Regions from separate parts of the Homo sapiens genome. Here regions 2, 3 and 4 are each linked to region 1. The links are contacts of gene promoters, found by promoter capture Hi-C in human tissues and cell types (Jung and others, 2019). All regions are on one chromosome and are shown on one strand. The core of a region is centred on a gene start or on the middle of the fragment in contact, and the rest is flanking DNA. Distances in the headings are between cores, read along the strand shown.

Evidence for each region. Contacts are between HindIII fragments. The study calls those that stand out against the background at their distance.
Region 2: a contact is called between a fragment that was not itself captured here and the fragment with the promoter of FAM133B in region 1, in 1 of the 25 tissues and cell types used here (aorta).
Region 3: a fragment that was not itself captured here is called in contact with the fragment with the promoter of FAM133B in region 1 in 1 of the 25 tissues and cell types used here (pancreas).
Region 4: a contact is called between a fragment that was not itself captured here and the fragment with the promoter of FAM133B in region 1, in 1 of the 25 tissues and cell types used here (IMR-90 fibroblasts).

Annotation. Positions count from the first base shown.
Region 1 is chr7:92,588,641-92,593,526 of GRCh38, reverse strand. FAM133B (family with sequence similarity 133 member B) reads left to right here and starts at 3,137. Exons shown (of 11, transcript NM_152789.4): 1 at 3,137-3,259. The coding sequence starts at 3,236. LOC105375397 (a long non-coding RNA gene) reads left to right here. Exons shown (of 3, transcript XR_927744.3): 3 at 1,379-1,507. RefSeq lists enhancers at 2,980-3,259, 3,350-3,409. The HindIII fragment of the contact is 9,030 bases long and covers 1-4,451 here.
Region 2 is chr7:92,943,615-92,948,618 of GRCh38, reverse strand. No RefSeq gene overlaps it. Among named protein-coding and RNA genes, the nearest start is that of CDK6, 110 kb to the right of the region's middle. The HindIII fragment of the contact is 7,796 bases long and covers 1-5,004 here.
Region 3 is chr7:92,122,737-92,128,140 of GRCh38, reverse strand. It overlaps CYP51A1 (cytochrome P450 family 51 subfamily A member 1), which reads left to right. Exons shown (of 10, transcript NM_000786.4): 4 at 510-636; 5 at 1,714-1,888; 6 at 4,288-4,407; 7 at 4,826-5,021. Among named protein-coding and RNA genes, the nearest start is that of CYP51A1, 9.0 kb to the left of the region's middle. The HindIII fragment of the contact is 6,060 bases long and covers 1,119-5,404 here.
Region 4 is chr7:92,977,888-92,982,950 of GRCh38, reverse strand. No RefSeq gene overlaps it. Among named protein-coding and RNA genes, the nearest start is that of SAMD9, 140 kb to the left of the region's middle. The HindIII fragment of the contact is 5,699 bases long and covers 1-4,968 here.

The DNA of each region.
Region 1 (4,886 bases), core at 1,888-4,387:
AGGGAGGGAAGTGGGAGCTGCGGATCAAAAAGTACAAAGATTTAAATAGACAAGAACAATAAGTTTTGAGATCTACTGCACAGCAGGGTGACTATGGTCAATAATAATGTATCATATATTTCAAAATAACCAAGAGTAAGTTTCAAATGTCTCACCATAAAAAAAATAGGTAGGCAAGGTGATGGATATGTTAATTTGTTTAATCACTCCACATTGTATACATATAACAAAATATCATATTGTACTCCATAAATGTATACAGTGATTTGTCAATTAAAATAATATTAATTTTTAAAAGGCTCTACAGCTGGGTGTGGTGGCTCATGCCTGTAATCCCAACACTTTGGGAAGCCGAGGAGGGTGGATCATCTGAGGTCAGGAGTTCGAGACCAGCCTGGCCAACATAGTGAAACCCTGTCTCTACTAAAAATACAAAAATTAGCTGGGTGTGGTGGTGCATGCCTGTAATCCCAGCTATTTGGGAGGCTGAGGCAGGAGAATCGCTTGAACCCAGGAGGCAGAGGTTGCAGTGAGCCGAGATCTCACCACTGTACTCCAGCCTGGGCAACAGAGCAAAACTCTATCTCAAAAAAAAAAAAAAAAAAAAAGGCTCTGCCTGCAGAATAAAATATAACTTCTTCCTTTGGCATTCGAGGTCCTTTGCCTCCAGGCCCAGTGTACCTTTCCAGCCTTGTTCCCTTCTATCATAAGTGTTCTATGCTGCCAAACCTGACCACATCACCACTCCTTTTACGCGGGCTATTCCCTCTGTAATGTCCTTCCCTCTCAGTTCCTCTGAGGGAAGCTGGCCCAGGGTCACAATCCACCTGAAATGCCACTTCTCAATCCTCCCTCTCTTCTCTCCCCTCCCAAAGGCAGTGTGATTTTGTAAGGAAAGCATATGCTTTCATGGTGTGGGTGGGTGTGTGTGTGTGTGTGTGTGTGTGTGTCTACGCGTGCCTGTGTGTCTATGTGTGTATTTAATAGAGACTGCATCTTGTAAATGCTTTCATGTTTGACACACCTGTGTTTGAATCCCCAGCTTCTCTGCTTTCTTGCTGTGGAAGCTGGCACAAATTACTCGGCTTCCCTTCGCCTCGGTTTTTCTCATCCACAAAATGGAATGTAATCTCCTGGTTATGCCTAGAACATTCGGGAGGGCATGTAGGCCCACTGCTAGGACAGAAATGTATTTATTAGCAGATCACACATGTGCAGAGAATGTGTAAAGATTTCTACTGTCACTGAATTATATCCTGAGAAGTCTTGGACTGATTTGTTCTTTATGTAGTCCACTCAGATGAGCTCCCGATAGCTCTTGCCATCTTCCTTATCTTCACAGGCCCCTGGTCATTTTCTTGTTTCTCTGTCCCCCCAGGGATTCACGTTTCATCCAGGAGGGGTTGTGTACACTCGCAGAGAGAGAGAGACTTCTAAAGGAAACACAACCTTTCTGTTGACTTATACCATATTTTTAAAAATCTCTGTGTTCTGTACAATCAGCCAACCAAGGAAGTGAAAGGTAAGAAGGAGCTGAAGAGGGAAAAAAAAAACTATATTCTCTCACAGGTATTATCATGCTTATCATGTTGGAGTATTAAAAATAATATCTGTCAAATGCCTAGAATATTTAAAACATGAAAAATAAGCCAGGAAAGAAAGAATAACTTAATATTAATAGGTTCTCCTCTTCCTCTTGTGTATAAAAAGAAGCCTGTCTTCAGTCAGAGTCCCCAGCTTAAGTCGGGGGTAATGGAGGAGGAGGAGAAATGAGAGACTGGAGGCCTCATTTTGGAAAGTGGGTTACTGAGGAAGAATCAACACTTAGTAGGGAGCAGAACCACCAAGGACTGCATGTGAGAGTTTGGAAAAGTTTTGAGACAGAAGATGGTAGTTGGGAGCATCTGTCATATAGTGTAGCATGAAAAATGCAGGGAGGGAGGGAGGCAGAGATCGGGAAAGATGATTTTAAAGCATGTTCTTGTATGTAATTAGTGTAATTCCCATTTTGCCATTTCCAAGAGTCCGGAGAAGATCCTAATTGATTTTCAACTACTTCCTAATGATACTTGCTAAGATGAACCCAGAGGGGTCGCTTTATCTATAAATACTTACTAAATATGATTATCTTCTCTGGAGCCCAGATCATCTTCCTTAAAGTTGCAGTGCAGTAGTGCCAATATTACGATATGCTATGCAGTAAAGTTGGCCCTGTGTGTGTTTATTGCCCTTACGAGTTTATAAACAGGCTCCTTGACGATAGGGATTTTTCTTAATCATCTTTGTGCCCTACCCAGCTCCAGCTTCCAGCCACCCAGTTAGTGAAAACTGTACAAACTACATGTTCAAAAATTAGTGTGAAATGAATGCACAGGTGATGAATGAATGGGATTGAAATTAAAGGGTGATTTCGTTAGCAGCGTCTATGACAGCACTGCCTTTCCCCCCACCAGCTGATGGGCTCCGTGAGGGACCAAGGCTCTTTGGTCCTCACTTTGTCCCCAGCACTTGCACTCTGTCAAGCACAAAATAAGCATCGGGAGAATCTTTGTGTCCCCTCGAATGAGTATTTCAGTGTATCAAGAATGGAAGAAAGGCCAAGCGCAGTGGCTCATGCCTGTAATCCCAGCACTTTGGGTCGAGGCGGGCGGATCACTTGAGGTCAGGAGTTATAGACCAGCCTGGCCAACGTGGTAAAACCCTGTCTCTACTAAAAATACAAAAAATTTAGCCCGGCGTGTTGACGGCCGCCTGTAATCTCAGCTACTCGGGATGCTGAGGCAGGAAAATCGCTTGAACCCGGGAGGTGGAGGCTGCAGTGAGCCTAGATCGTGCCACTGCACTCCAGCCTGGGCGACGGAGCGAGAGTCTGTCTAAAAAAAAAAAAAAAAAAAAAAAAAAAAAAAAGAATGGAAGAAAGCAAAACAATCCAAGGCCAAACTGAAGCGAGCTGCCTTGGTGGGGCTCCGGTGCAGAAGCGCAGCGTCGCCTGCTCTTGGGTGCCTAATGAACGACCGGACTCCTGCAGGCGCTCCGCCAACTGCAGCGATCTCTGGAGCCGGCCTGTCCTCCACAGAGATAGGGGGCGCTGTAGCAGAGCGCGGCCGTCGAGTCCGCGTGGTGCCGCTCTCTAGGCGGAGTGGGGAGGCGGCAAGAGGACCTGCGGCAGGCCCTCTTCGGCAGTCTCTCCGGCCCGGTTTCCCTCGGCGTGCTACTGTGCGCTCGATCCAGCACCATGGGGAAGCGGGACAATCGGGTGGTGAGTACTCAGCCGGGAAAACAGTGGGGCGACGCAGGGCCCGGCGGCAGGACAGCGAGAACCCTCGCTGTTCCCGGCCGGGCCGGAGGGCAAGCGGCAGCCCTCAGACGTGGGGCCTGGAGACCCAGCACCCTCCGCCGATCCCAGATGCGCGTGCGCCGCGCACGCAGTTGGCGCTTTAGGGTTCCCAGCTCTCTCTTGCCCGCCCCTTTTTTCTTCCCTCACCTCGTCGCTCTTTCTGGCGCTGCTGGTTTGCACTCTTGCCTGCTGTACGCGGGCCCCCAGTGCCCACTTAGAACCGCGAGGGCTCGGGGAACCCCCCCCACACCTGGCCCCGCCATGTAACTCCGAAGACTTAGGCCCTTGGACGCATCCGACTCACCCGCCCCTTGGTATCGGCCGCCCCAGGTCCGCACCCCTCTCCTGCGCACCCAAGTGGGAGGGAGGCACAGAGGCCTCGACGCGGTCCCTGTGCCGGAGAGCCAGCAGCGCGCCTGGTTTTAGCGACAAGCAGGCTCCCGTTTGAAAATGGGATGGCAGCATTTGCTTTCGTGTCTCCAGCGCCCTGTAGGACCTGGCCCCCATAGACACTGTGAGGGAATGAATGGCGTGAAAATAGTTGGCTTTCGAGTCCAACACAAAACTGGAATGTCAGTTTTGTTCCGTCGGAAGTTGGGTGACCTAGAACAAGTTACTTTTCTTCTCTGTGCCGTCGTTTATAAAAGGGGATCATTATTATCTACAACCTTACAGATTAATTGAAATCACAAAAGGCAAGATGTGTGAGCGAGTACTGGGCATGAAAATTATTACTCTAGTGAATGAGATAAAAGAGATGCATAAATAACTTACAGCAGAAAGAGTAGGAAATGGTCCTTGATAGTTGTTAGAGATTCTAAAGGCATTCAAAAGAAAAGGTGCTTTTGAGAAGCGGAGATGGGAGGAAAGTATTCTAGACCGCTGGGGCGGGGAGGGGGCTGAAAAACTCAGGTTATGAATCAGATTGAATGAGTAGTAAACATAATGAAATAACAATAAGCTTAGGTTGCAGCCTGACAATTTCTGGGCTTGCCTGTGACAAAGTTTTAGCCACTGAGTAGCAAAATGAGGAAAATGCACGTAAAACGAATGTGCTACGTTTCTTGAACTCGCTTTTTTATTCAACAATTATTTGCAAGCTGTGTGTGTCTCACACCAAAGGAGACTTAACATTTACGAAATGATGACACTTGCCATCTGTAGTAGCCAGTTCTTGCATGGCTTTTATAAAGAAAAACCTGAGGCTGGGTAATTTATAAAGAAAAGTGTTTAATTGGCTCACGGTTCTATGGGCTGTACAGGAAGCTTAGCGGCATCTGCTTCTGGGGAGGCCTCAGGGAGCTGTTACTCATGGTGGAAGGCAAAGCAGGAGCAGGCGTCTTACATGGCAGGAGCGGGACCAAGAGAGGGACGGGGAGAGTTGCTACACAGTTTTAAACAACCGCATCTGTTGAGAAATCATCTCTATGCAGTGCTGGGGAGAGGAGGATGCTAAGCCATTCATGAGAACTCCGCCCCCATGATCCAGTCACCTCCCACCAGGCCCCACCTCCAACATTGGGGATTACAATTCGACATGAGATTTGGG
Region 2 (5,004 bases), core at 1,744-4,243, 360 kb before region 1:
TTTATAAATAATGAGTTTTTCTGAGAATTGTGTGGCCTTCAATGTAAAGTTTGTGCCATAACTTCTCAAGAAGTTTGTTTTTAATAACTTCTGTTTCTTACCTGTCTATTGTCCAGTTAACCAGGTTGCCAGATATGCGACCTCTAATTAAGAAAAGCCTAACTGTGGTCACGTAATAATCATTGATCTTCACTTATTACTAGGCTGCTGTAACCATGCTAACTCTTTGCATTCAAATCTATATTTAAAGTTATAGCAGTCACAATCGTGAATGAAATCTAGATGACTTTTCTTTTCAAAGCCTAGGCATTCTCCCATGCCTTTATCCTTTAGACCTCACGAATGAAACCAGGTTAAGAGAAGAAGACACGACTTCAGATGGGAGTTTTACAACTCATCCCTTAATACCTCAAAAATGGAAGAAAACTCCAAAATTGGAGGGTTTTGTCTCCACTAATCTCAGAGATTAAAGAAGGAACAGCAGTAGGAAAACCAGGAAAAATATGCCATTTTATCCTCCTGAAAATCATGATTCTTCAAAATTCTTTTTGAGTTGTAGGCACACAGCACCATTTGGTGCTATGAGAAAAGGCTTTCATCAAGTAAAAGTTCTAAATCTGGCCCTCAAAAGCCACTAAGACATGGCTCAACCCACATTTCTCATCTTCCATTGCTTTCTTTCTGCCAAACCAAATCCTCCCTGATCCCCACATCTCTTTCATCTCTCTGCCTTTGGAGTATTTATTAGGTGCTAATAAATACTCCTCGGAAGGGGAGGGGAAGTAGGGTGGGGATTCCATGGTCAAATAAATTTGGAAAATGCTGGATTAACCAGCGTAAAATAGGTTTCCTTACTATAGTAAGTCTCAGAACCTTTTACAATTCTAATGTTCATTTAAATCTTCAAAGGTAAAATATGGTATAGAAGTGGTATAGATAACCACTCATCTCAGTCGGCCTAGAACAGTCCCAATGTATACCTGTTATCCCAGCATAATTACCAGTGTCCCTTTTAGCTTTTAAAAATGTCTTACATTGTACAATATGGTTTTCCTAGATACAGCACTTTCTAAATTAATTTGACCACTGTTCCCACTTTTCATATAATACCTAAGTATGTGGTAGAATACAGTTTGGGTAGCATGAACTTTCCCCCACTTTGCCAGGTGTCAATGCCTATCCAGATCTCAAATCCCATCCAGAATAGTTTACACTGCGGCAAAGGCTTTCCTCGTTATTTGTCCTCCTCTACAGCTGAAAGTACCTTGTCCTTCTGCTGAGGATCTAACACCTGCTTTTTACCTTTCCCTTGTGACATTGAGTATTTTCTACCCTACTTTTGGTTCGAGGTTCAAGCCTTTCCACTGTGTCATTTATGGTAAAATCCAAGTAGTGTTTCACTTTATCTTCCTGCACAGTGCCAAACTCAGTAAATACCTTTGATTGGTTACACTGGGTTGCACCTGACGCTGTCCTTGCCTCTCATTATAAAGAGGTAGATTCTCAAAGCAGGCCAAGGCAACTCCTTTTCCTGCCTTCTTGGAGACCTCACTCTGCTGACTGTCCCCTCCCTTTCATATCTCCCACAACACTTAAGCATGCTCAGGATTCCTCCATCTTAAATATGCCTGGTTTCTCTCTCCACCGCTCCACTCAAACGATTCACATCAGGGTCAACAGTCCTTTTTTTTTTTTAACTAAATCCTATTAATACTCCTCATTTGGGTTCCAGCTCAGACTCTGAAATGAGTCTGCCTCTTTGATTTATACTCTCTTTACAAGTCTCCAAAGTTTCTCAAAAAGTTAACATAGAATCGTCAAAAGGCCTAGCAATTCCGCTGCTAGATATATACCCAAAGGAAAGGAAAGGACAGACTCAGATACGTGTGCACCAATGTTCATAGCAGCATTATACATGATAGTCAAAAGGTGAAAATGACCCAAAACTCCAGCAATGGATAAGAAATATGGGTATATTACATACAATGGAATATTATTCAGCCTTAAAAGGAAATGAAATTCTGATACAAGCTACAATATGGATGAACTTTGAAGACATGCTGAGCAAAAGAAGCCAGACACAAAAGGGCAAATATTCTGTGATTCCACTTATATGGGATACATAGAATAGGAAAATTCACAGAGACAGAAAGTAAAATAGAGGTCACCAAGGGCTAGGGAAAGGAGAAATGGGCAATTATTGTTTAAGGGGTACAGAGTTTCTATTTGGCATGATGAAAAAGTTCTGGAAATGGCTAGTGCTGATGGTTGTTCAACACTGTGAATATATTTAATTGCCACTGAGTTGCAACACTTAAAGATGGCTAAGGTGGTTAATTTTGCATTATGTATATATTACCACAATAAGAAACAAAACTGTGTAAAATATTAAAATTCCTGAAATATAAAAACATTCATAGTCAACAGAGAAAAATCAGCCTCATAACTCCCTTTTGTTCAATAAGAATCTCATTCTGGGAGAACACCCGAAGTGGGGAATTCCCAATCAAGGGAGGCGTCCTCATCAAGCATATTGGAAAGAGCTTTCCACTTAAACTTATCTCTAGTCCTTCGGGTTACACAGCCACACCTCATTTTACCAGTACCAATATTTCTGTAAAGTTGTAAGCTAAATCATATCTTCCCAGGTCATAACCGAGGTTATATAGGCAGAGGGGTTTTATCTAAATGAAAATTGCTCTTCAGGTGGTGGCATTGCTCCAAGTTTTCCCTTTGGGTTTATCTCATCCTTTTCTTCCCCTACCTAACACTCCTCTACAAAGAGGATAGTGATTTCTAAACAAATAGGTAAGCAAGGAGAGAGCCAGCTATTTGTAAAATCAGAAGGGGCATCAAAGGGAAGAGGCAACATAGTCCACTCCAGTAAGCACAGATTAACTCTTTTATCGAGCATTAAGTTTGTCAATGCTCCAATTCCCTGCCTGTGGTGTATTTTATACTTGTATAATATACTGTCAGTCATGAATGACCTGCTCCCTATGCCCAGATCTTCTGTAACAGCAGGGAGCCAAATCAGTGAGGGTGATTTCTCTGACTTTTCAAATGCAACACATTATTTGTTAGTACTCATTGGCGATGTCCCTATTGCCTGACAAGAAAGTCCTTACCCCAAAGCCTCACAATTTCCAAATCCCAAGTAAAGCATCTTGCTCCCTCAAAGAGTTTTCTATAAGTCTATCATAGGAGAAAGCCTCTAGTGTTTCAAATTATGAATTTTTCGTGGGGGTTGGTAGTGCTTGGGAGCGCCTTGTAAAATTCTCACAAGATAAGTAAGATATTCAAAATTCTGCCTAGGATAATTATTACTGTTTTGCGTTTGGTGGATTTGAGGGAGGATACATCAAAGCAATGAGGCTTTGCAGTATACCAAGTCATTAAGGCCTGAATGTGGGCTGTGGTAGCAGAAAAGGAATGATTCCAAAAGTATTAAAAACATGAGACAAGAGGACACTTTGTATCTAAAGCATTCATTACTCTGAGCATCTTTTCCTTAGCTTTTCTGAGTTACCTGATGGCATGGGAGCAAGTTTCCCATTAGAAAGCCTCTTTTGCTTTCTGTCCTTTTTTTTTTTTTTTTTTTTTTTTTTTTATGGCCACAGAGCTCTCTACTCCCATGGAATTTCATGGAGATCCCATGAAACTGTGCATGAATTGTGCCTTCTCCAGAGACACTCCCTCGTGCACACGACACTGGGCCCGATTTTGTAACTGCGTTTATGACTGATTTACGGAACTTTTACTTGGCAGGCCCTGCTGTTACTGTTAGCTGGTTACTATGGCTCTTTCAACATGCCACTCTGGCATGTTGCATTAAAAATAACCTCCCAAGACTGTACAGAATACATAGAACAACGAGAGTACAGTCATAGCTGCAGATGCCAGGGTCTGCTCTGGTGCCTGTGTGTTCACATGTGCTCCTAGGTGAAGTAACTACAGAAAAATCATTCAAACACCTTCTAAAACATCCACTTGCATCACAATTTTTCTAAGCTTCCCCAAAGCAGAGGTTCTCAGAGATCAACAACATCCCAAACAACTGTGAACCCTAAGAATAACAAAACACAAATGATAAGTGTTTTTTAAGGGCACAGATCCAAAGTCACCGTGTCTGGGTTTGAATCCAGGCTTTCACACGTAACTAGCCCTGGGATCTTGGCAAGTTATACCACAGCCACAGCTATCTCCTCTGCAAAACTGAGTGATAACATCAATCTCAAAGCGTTGTTCTGAGAATTAAGGGTGCTATCCAAGGAAAAGTTCTTGATTCAGTATTAACACATAGAAGGTGCTCAATAAATAGATTATTCTCCTTTGAACTTCTTTGAACAAGTATTTGCTTAATAAATATTTGTTGGCTGAAAGATTAACACCCAGCTATTCATGTACATGTCTCATCCCATTTTCTAGATTATCTAGTTCTTTAGATAAGTTATATTTCATTCATCTTTGTATTTCACAGCTCTTTGATTGTTGCTGAATAAATATTTATTAAATTAAATGGAAAGATAAAGTCTGTTGTAAGGGACAACAGTTAGTATGTAAACGGGTAGCAAAAAAGAAAAATCACAGGCTTTAAGTGCAAATAGAATCCAGTGCCAAGAAAACACTGATGTTCCCTGAAACTAAATGAATACAAGCTACACATGAATACAATATTTGTAATGCTAGATCTGGTTCAGCGACTCTGGTTCTAGCTGGGTACTGCAGAGAAGAGAAAAGCATTTATCTCTATCCCACCCTTGGCCTCAGCCCATGAGCCAGGCTTGCCCACAACTCAAGAGAAGAATTGCTCTCCCAGAGCCAGACACCACAGTCACCACAAGCTAAGTAGTTTCCTTATGCCATTGAAAGCATCATTGGATTTGGTGACAACAACACAAGCAGAAGACTTCTGCTGAGGACACAGGGCCAGCATAGTATAGACTGTGCCCTGGGTTCCACTATTAGTGCTCAAATCAACATGAACAGAGCTGTGCCCGTGCA
Region 3 (5,404 bases), core at 2,899-5,398, 470 kb after region 1:
CGCTGTTTAGAGATTGCTGACTTCAGAAGTCCTCTTTTAATGCAACAACTTCACGTGTGGGGTACATCTATGTGTATGTTTTACCCTCAAAAGCCAAATACGAAATTGTTTTAAGTTGATATAGAACACAAATCAGACAATTGGCCCCAATGCTTGGTATGGGCTCTGGCTGTGAATGTAACACACATTAGCCAGTACCCTAGTATAGCAGTTAAGAGTTAACATTAAATCTTGTTTCTAGTGATGGGGAATGAGGGAATGAATGCCTCTCCTTAAGGCCAAAAAACAGGGCCCTGGAAAATCCCTCTGTTCAGATATATATATTCATTTAGACTCTATTCATTTAGAGTCAGATAGATCTATTCATTTAGACTCTTAAAATGTAAATGCCCAAAGGGTTAAAACCATTACTTGTGTTAGTGTTACATAATTATAATAACCTAAATGGATTTTATGATAAAACAAAAATGTGTTTTAATGCCGTATCCCCGTTTTGAATTTTTTTGAAGGTTTTCTTGGAGCAGAAGAAAATGTTAAAAAGTGGCCTTAACATAGCCCACTTTAAACAGCATGTTTCTATAATTGAAAAAGAAACAAAGGAATACTTTGAGAGTTGGGGAGAAAGTGGAGAAAAAAGTAAGCAAAATGTTTTATGTTTGTCCTAACATTTCTACTTCTCTGTGAATAGAAAAGTAGAGTATATATGTGTGTAGTATATAAAAAACAAATTACAGTGTATGTAAAACTACCTTAGATTTATGGGAGGGTTATGTAATGATTACCATGAAGTTGTAACTGAGAATCCAGTTTTTATACTGGGCTGCAAGTTAAGTATTGCCTTCAGAAGCAATTGCTGTGCCCATAGTAGGAAGCAACATCTGCCCACAGGGCAGCAGGACCCAGGGCAGCAGGTCACTATATTCTGGGTCTGGCCTTTGGCCTCTGTAAGAGTTCCAGAATCTTTGTTTTTGGTATACTTAAGTTGATATTGATATATTTTCTAACCATACAAGAAACTGATGTATAAATTAGAATGCCAATGTAATAATGCATGTGAGACATATAATTACAGCACCAAGAAATCCAGAATATTTACTGATATTCTTTTTATTGACAAATATAATTGGAAAGCCAGATGATCATTGGAAGTTCATTTAGTGAATGTGGAATTAACAGGAAATTAATTGGATAATTTTTATTAGTTGTCATCAAATTATGCTTGCCTGGTGCATTTGTCTCCAGTGTTGGGATATACTAATTGGTGATTATAGTTTTCTTTTACATATCGCCAGTAATTCCATTTTGGCCCTGATCTTCCTACTTTTAACCTGGGAAATAATCTGATCTTTGGCTACTATTCCTTGGGAAGTACCTTATTATTGTCATATGCACTATAAATAACCTTTTTTCTGCTTTTGTTATTGTGACCTGGAAATCAAATAACCACATTTATTCTTTTCATGATGAAGTGCTCATGAGTGGGGTTTTGAGATGTGTTTCTGGGATCTGTTTTGGCTGTTTAGAGGGACAGGGTGCTTCACATTGTTTGGTTTATTGCCCCTCTTTGTTGTTGTACATAGTCACATGTCTGTCTACAGACTTTTTTTGATGATATGAATAGGATCTTGTTTCTTCTTGAGTTCTGTTTTTAATTCTCAATTTTCTTTCACTTTTTGGAAATAGTAATGAGAATAATCTTTTTTTTCTCCCTAGATGTGTTTGAAGCTCTTTCTGAGCTCATAATTTTAACAGCTAGCCATTGTTTGCATGGAAAGGAAATCAGAAGTCAACTCAATGAAAAGGTAGCACAGCTGTATGCAGATTTGGATGGAGGTTTCAGCCATGCAGCCTGGCTCTTACCAGGTTGGCTGCCTTTGCCTAGTTTCAGGTATGGATAAAGAATATATTACACTAGGTTATTTAACTTTGTATAATTATTGTAGTGTTGGTATGCTTTGCCTTAACAAAGATAAAAATTAAACAAGTAAAACATACAAAATGGGTAAGATTATGAATCCCCTTTCTTCTATAAGAATTCAAGACAAATTTTCTTTATATAATGAGCTCATTTAAAGTAAGTTTCAGTTTATTAAAAAGGTGATTTGTTGTCTGTCTAGTCTAATATTTTATTTATGTTTTTGTTTTTGAGATGGAGTCTTGCTCTGTTGCCCCAGCTGTAGTGCAGTGGTGTGATCTCGGCTCACTGCAGTCTCTGCCTCCTGTGTTCAAGCAATTCTCCTGCCTCATCCTCCTGAGAGCTGGGACTACAGGCACGTGCCACCATGCCCAACTAATTTTTCTATTTTTAGTAGAGACAGGGTTTCATCATGTTGGCCAGGCTGGTTTCAAACTCCTGACCTCAGGTGATCCACCTGCCTCAGCCTCCCAAAGTGTTAGGATTACAGGCGTGAGCCACTGAGCCCAGCCTAGTTTAAAAGCCTGCTTACCTCACGTATTCCTTATCCTCAGGAAAGTCTCTGAACTATACCTAAAAGTGATACAGCTCTTCTCTAGCACTTGTTTGAAATCTTTGGTGGCTTTTTATTGTATTGTGAAGTTTCTTTGTTTTAAATATTTGTGCCTTTATTTAATTTTCTGTTTCTTAAGGACAGGGACTGCCTCTGATATAAAGAAATATTGCTCTTAGGACTTGATCTATAGCTTAGTGCTTAGTGTTTTGCATATTAGTAGGCTTTCTGTACTTTTGTTGATTTATTGGTGTTTAGGTGACAGATGGGGAGGAGATAGATTGCTAGTCCCTTTTCTTCTATTTCTGCCCCCTCTATCTAGTTACAGATTGGAAGAGGGGTGGGAGTAAAAGGAAGAGCCAGGAGAGATTCCCTAAAGTTCTCTGGAACTCATCATACCTTATATTTGCAAGGAGCTTTGCAGTTTCAAAATGTTTTCATATATCTTATATTAGAACACCCAGCACAGCCCTGGACTCATAGTGGGTTCTCCATAAATGTGCATTTCTTTTTTTTTTTTTTTTTTTTGGTGATGGAGTCTTGCTCTCTCGCCCAGGCTGGAGTGCAGTGGCATGAGCTCGGCTCACTGCAAGCTCTGCTTCCCAGGTTCACGCCATTCTCCTGCCTCAGCCTCCCGAGTAGCTGGGACTACAGGCACCCGCCACCAAGCCTGGCTAATTGTTTTGTACTTTTAGTAGAGATGGGGTTTCACCGTGTTAGCCAGGATGGTCTTGATCTCCCGACCTTGTGATCCGCCCGCCTCGGCCTCCCATAGTGCTGGGATTACAGGCGTGAGCCACTGCACCTGGCCCATAAATGTACATTTCTACCTGCCTGTTTCTACCTGCTCTGTCTCTTGGATGAAGTCAGAGCTTGCTATGTTAGGCCCTTCACATTCTGGCCCAGTCTTTCTTTCTTCTACTCATACCAACTAATTTAACCAGATTATTCAATTCACTTTCTTAAACAGGCCTATGTTTTCCTGGTTCGACTGTATTCATACAGTTAAGCCCCAACATCTTCTCTTCTGTACACATGGTTTCAGTTGATCCTCAATAACAGATTAACAGTCTTGTAAATGAAACAGAGTAGGAGTTTTTTTTAGAAGGCTTGATTTAAGAGGGGGCTTGGGAGTCAGACTGCCTAGTTTTAAATTCCAGCTCCAATGTTTGCTTTCTGTGTGATCTTATGCAGCTAGCTATAACTTGAGGTTAATAGTATGTACCTCACAGGAAGATAAAAGTGAGTAATTCATGTAAAACACTTAACATGGTACCTGCTACATAGTGAACATACTATTTAAAGGTAAAGTTTAGGAGTTGAAGCTTGTTTTCTGAATCTGCTAGTATTTTCACCCCCTACAAAAAACTATTGTATTAGAAAGTGAAAAGTAGAACCAGATTCCATGGAAGAACCAGAGTGACTCTTCTGCTTTAAGACTTGATTTGGTATTAAAATTGGAATTTTATGTTAATTTAAAAGAGTATCCTACTTTCTGTTGAACTGGAAAATACTTCTAAAGGAATTTCTTGCTTGTTTTAGGCCTTTAGTTTGAACACAGGCAATGTGTTAAGAATCTGGGATATATATGTTAAATAAAGCACAGTTCTTGCCCTTAGGGACTATGGACATTTTTAACAATGTAAGATTTTCATGACTTCCAGTATGTTCCTGGTTCTGATTTTTTTGTCAATTATTTTAGAGTCATTAAAGTTGGTTAAATAAGATGCTTTATGCTCGGTCCTGGTTCTCAAAATGAATTTGATCCTAGAAGGTTATTTCTTTATTTAAGAAAATCATCTTTATCTTTTAATTACAGACGCAGGGACAGAGCTCATCGGGAAATCAAGGATATTTTCTATAAGGCAATCCAGAAACGCAGACAGTCTCAAGAAAAAATTGATGACATTCTCCAAACTTTACTAGATGCTACATACAAGTAAGAGCTATTCAGATAACATATTAAGCTGAAGCAGGAAATTACACATTAAAACACAGTTAAATAGTATTTCCAGTTAAAAAACAGTGATGCTGGCAAAATAAGTTGGTAGCTGTGATCTTTGGACTCTTTAAATTGTTGAGACATAAACTATTGGCATCCTGTGTCTTACTGTAATCCCAGTGACTGGGTATGGTAAAAGTTTGCTAATGAACTGTAATGGAGTCTTTTGTAATCAAAATCGTTTTGTGCTGGTCTGTCTCTTCCCTAAGAGAAAAAAAACTCTTGACTTGTGATAGTCAAATATAAGAGACCACTATACCTGAAAAATGTATTCATTATGACACTTTATTTAAAGGTTGAGGCATGAAATGTATCTGCCAAAATGTTAAATTTGTGTCTTTGGTTCATTCCTTAGGGATGGGCGTCCTTTGACTGATGATGAAGTAGCAGGGATGCTTATTGGATTACTCTTGGCAGGGCAGCATACATCCTCAACTACTAGTGCTTGGATGGGCTTCTTTTTGGCCAGAGACAAAACACTTCAAAAAAAATGTTATTTAGAACAGAAAACAGTCTGTGGAGAGAATCTGCCTCCTTTAACTTATGACCAGGTTTGTTGGATTTTTCAGTTTCATTGCTGCCTTATGACTTTGAGGATCTGTGGCTAATTTTTAAAAGGGACAATTTGAGATTTTCTATATACTATAGCTTAAATTGATCAGCTTCTCTATTTTTAGCAAATTCCCTATAACCTTACCTAAAATATCTTAATGTTATTGCTTCTTGCCATTAAGCTTTATCAGATATGTTTTGGGTTGATGGCTTAGAGATCCTTGGGGATGTTTCTTTGGTACTTACTTCCTCTGCTTCAAAGTCTGGCTTCTGTACATAGAGGATATTATGTGCATGTTGTGTGTCTTATGAAGTGTAGAAGCCTCTGAATTACTTAGAATTCTGTATGTCCAGAGTGGCCTGGGCATGAGCAGAGACTTCT
Region 4 (5,063 bases), core at 870-3,369, 390 kb before region 1:
AAGGACTCTAGAAATTAATCAAAGTCTTGCAATAATCCAATGAGGGCTTATCCAAGGAAAAATCGTTGAATCTTTTTAAGAACAGCAGTATCTGTGGCATTTTAATTTGCTTAATCCCATGCCCCTCTCCCTGATTCCACAATATCCTTAAAAACCAAAATCCCCACAATTATAGTGAAACCAGAAGCCTAGCAGCCATTGATGGTAGCAGAATAGAATCTGATCTCTCCAAAAGCACCATACTCAGAGAATTGTCATTATCTATGTTGGTCTGTTAGTTTCCTGGAAACTCCATTAGGAGGTCTTGTCTTTATTTGACCTGAAACCTCACTTAATGTGAGCATCCTTTTCCACAACATATTTGTCAAACAATTCAGCAACAATCATTTAACATTGCAGCTGCCTGAGGCAGTGCTAACAGTTGTGGCAAAAAAAAAAAAAAAAAAAAAAAAAAAAAAAAAAAAAAGAAAAGAAAAAAAAGCAGCAGCTGAGAAGGAAGATAAATATATGGCAAATAAACACTTGAAAAGATACTTAACATCATTTTATTGGGAAATTCTGTATTAAAACAATAAAATGCCACTACTTATTATATTAGAATAGCTAAAATTCAATAAACTGACAATACCAAATGTTAATGAGGTTGCAGAGCAACAGGAATGCTCATTCATTGCTGCTGGGAATGCAAAAAGATGTAGCTACTTTGGAAGACAGTTTGGAAGTTTCTTACATCTTACCATATGATCCAATAATAGCACTCCTAGGTATTTACCCAATGATATGAAGAATTATGTCCACACTAGAACCTGCACGTGAACGTTTACATCAGCTTTATTTATAATCACAAAACACTGGAAACAACCAAGATGAATAGATAAGTGAATGGATAACCATACAATAGAATGTTATTCAGCAATAAAAAAGAAATAAGCTATCACCCATGAGAAGACGTGCATATTCCTAAGTGAAAGAAACCAGTCTGAAATGTCTACGTTTGTATGATTCCAATTATATAACATTCTGGAAAAGACTTAAACATAAAGACAGTTTTAAAAGTCATGGTTTCCAGGGATTTGGGGGTGGGGTGGTAAGGGATGAATAGATTAAACACAGAGAAATTTTAGGATGGGAAAACTATTCTGTATAATACTGTAATGGTGGATACATGACATTATGCATTTGTCAAATCCCAAGTGACTTTACAGTACAAAGAATGAGCCTTAATATATACAAATTATTTTAAAAAATCATTTAGGAGATTGGGGGAATTCCAGGAAAAAATACAAACTGTGAATAGAGAATCTAACTGTATTACAAATGCATGACATAACCTCACTGAAATGAGCATGCAAAAAAGGTGCTCGCCTAAGTAGCTTCAGAGTCTACACAACTGAAGGTAAAAGGAACTGCACATAAGCACTGTAGTCAATTAATTACAATAAAAAATGAAAGAAAAAATAAGAAAGAAAAAAGAGATAGAACTGGAGAAGGAGATGGCCATTGGGTGTTTAGAAAAGCTCTGACATATTTCTGGTAATCCAGAAGGCCACACACCTGCATAGGGTTTTGTGCATGCCCAGGAAAGAACTGAGAAGGCCTGAAGCTCTTACATCTAGCTAGCCTTGAGGTTTTACACAAGCAGAAAGTGAGGCTACAGCAGAGTTGTAGACTTCCTGCCAACATACATGCACAGAGACCCTTGAAAAAGGATTGGAAATGAATTGATTCCAATCATTTAAGAAAATGTCTATCCAATTATTATTTGATCACTAAGTGAACTAAGCAGAGACTTCAGTGATCACATAACAAAGTATCTACACGTTAAAGATTTTTTTCAGGAAAGTCACTAGACAACAAATTGTGATGATAACAACAAACTCTAGGGCAGGGGAAATCTGATTTCCAGAGTTGTCTAATTGCATTATGTAAAGTGCTTGGTTTCCCAAAAAAAAAAAAAAAAAAAAAACAAATAAACCAGGAGACATACAAAGGAAAAGGCAGCTATAGTTTATACACAGGTAAAGAAGCAGCCAACAAAAACTGTCCCTAAAGAATGTTGGGACATGATGTTGAGACAGCTGTTGGACTAATTAAAGATTTAAAATCAGGTATTTTGAATACATTCAAAGAATGAGAGGAAACCACACCTAAAGAATTAAAGGAAAGTATGCGAATTACATTGCACAGAATAGAGAATATCAGTAAATACCAGCATATGAATAACGGGATTACAAGAAGGAGGAGAGAGAGAGAGAAAAAATATTTGAAGAAATAATAGCCCAAGCTTTTTGACTTCCCAACTTTGATGAAAAACATTAATCAACATGTCTAAGAAACCTGGCAAACTCCAAGTAGGATAAACTCAAAGATAGCCACACCTAGACACAACCAACTGTTGAAATCAGCAAATAAGAAGTGACTCATCACATACAAGGGGTCCTCAATAATATCTGCCACCAATTTCTCATCAGAAACCATGGAGGCCAGAATGCAGTTGGATGAAGTATACAAATTATTAAAAGAAAAAGGACATCAAAAAATAATTCTATATCTAGCAAATCTATCCTTTATAAGTAAAGAACAAATTAAGATATTCTCACATAAACTAAAAGAGAGAACTCATCACTAGCAAACATGTCTTTCAAGAAATACTGTGAAATATGGGATTACAAGAAGTACTGTGAGTCCTTCAGGTTAAAATTAAAGGACATTAGACAGTAACTCAAATCCATTTGAAGAAATAAAGAGCATTGATAAAGGTAATTATATCAATAGTGTTATGGACTAAATTGTAGCACCCCAAAATTTATGTGTTGAAGTCCTAACACCCAGTACACCTCAGAATGTAACTATATTTGAAGATAGGGCCTTTAAAGAAGTCATTAAGATTAAATGATCCAATCATTATGGATGAGGGGTCGCCCTCATAGCTGGTGCCCTTATAAGAAGAGAGAGAGAGACACCAGGGATGTACACACATGAAGAAAAGGCCATATGAGGACATGGAAAGAAGGTAGCCATCTGCAAGCCAAAGGGGCCTCAGGAGAAACCAAACCTGCTGACACTCTGATCTTGGATTTTAGCCTCCAGAAATATGAGAAAATAATGCCTGTTGTTTAAACCACCTAGTCTGGAGTATTTTGTTATGGCAGCCTAGCAAATAATACAGTGGATAAATATAAAAGACAGTTTAAATGTATTTTTTTCATTTTTAACTCTGTTTTCTATCTGATTTAAAAGAAAACTGTATAAAATGATAATTATAAATCTGCATAAATGGACATATAATATATAAAGAGGTCATTTGTATGACAATAATAGCACCAAAGAAAAAGGAGAGAACAGAGCTATATAGAAGCCAAGTTTTTGTATACTACTGAGATTAAGTTGATATTAATATGTACTAGATTAATTATTTAAGATGTTATTTGTAATCCCCAGGGCAACCACTAAGGAATAACTCCAAAAGACAGTGAAATAAAGGACAAGAGAATTAAAATGATACACTAGAAAATATCTATTTAATGCAAAATAAGGTGTTAATAGAGAAATATGAAAACAAAAAAATGGTATATAGAAAGCAAGAGTAAACAGCAGACACAAATACTGACATTAGAAATATATTAAATTTAATAGATTAAGCACTCCAATCAAAAAGCAGAGATTGACAGGCAGGATTTTTAAAAGACATGATCCAGCTATATATTGTCTACAAGAGCTTTGGATCCAAAATCACAAATAAGTTGAAAGCAAAAGGATGGGGGAAAATATATCATACAGTTTAACCAAAAAAAGAGCTGCAGTGACTATACTAATATCAGACAAACTACAATTTAACCCAAAATTTATTATTAGAAATAAAGAAGGACATTTTATAATGATAAATTGGTCAATCCATCAAGAGGGCAATGATAAACCTATATGTACATGAATTGCACCTAATAACAGGCTTTAAAAAAACATGAAACAAAACCAGACAGAACTGCAGAGAGAAATGGACAATTCAGTAATTGGAGAGTTCACTGTCCCACTTCAATGATATATAGAACTAAATAGATGAACAAGAAAATAGAACACTTAAATAATACCATAAACTAACTAGACCTAACAGAACATTTCACACAACAGAATACACATTCTTCTCAAGTGTACATGGAACATTCTCCAGGATAGGTCACGTGCTAGGCCATTAAAAAGGATTGAAATAATACAAAATATGATCTCTGACCACAATGGATTGAAATTAGAAATCAGTAAAAGAAGGATATTTGAGAATTTCACAAATAAGTGGAAATTAAACAACATACTCTTAAATAATGAATGCGTCAAAGAAGACACCAAAAAGACAATTGGAAAATACTTTGAGGGCCAGGCCTGATGACTCATACCTGTAATCCCAGCACTTTGGGAGGGTGAGACAGGAGAATCACTTGAGCCCAAGAGGTTGAGACCAGCCTGGGTCACATAAGGAGATCCCATCTCTACAAAAAAAAAAAAAAAAAAAAAAAAAAAAAAAAATTAGCTGGGCATGGTGGTACATGCCTAGAGTCCCAGCTATTCGAAAGGCTGAGGTAGGAGGATCACTTGAGCCTGGGAAAAGGTTGAGGCTTCAGTGAGCTGTGATCATACCACTGAGGTCCAATCTGGGTGACAGAGCAAGACCCTATCTCAAAAAAATAAAAACAAAATACTTTTAGATGAATTAAAATGAAAACACAACATACCAAAACTTATGAAATGCAGCTAAAGCAATGCTTAGGGAGAAATATATAGCAGTAAATGCCTATCTTTAAAAAGCAGAAAAATCTCAAACCAATAACCTAACTTTCCACTCTAAGAAACTAGAAAAAGAGAAAACCAAGCCTAAAGAAAGCAGAAAGAAGGAAATAATTATTACAGCAAAAATAAATGAAACAGTGAATAAAAAATAGATAAAACCAAAGAAAGTTGATTCTTTGAAGACAACATTAGAACTGGCAAACCTCTAGCCAAGAAAAAAGACAGAAGGCTCAAATTACTAAAATGAAGAATGAAAAGAATGGCATTACTACTGATCTTACAGA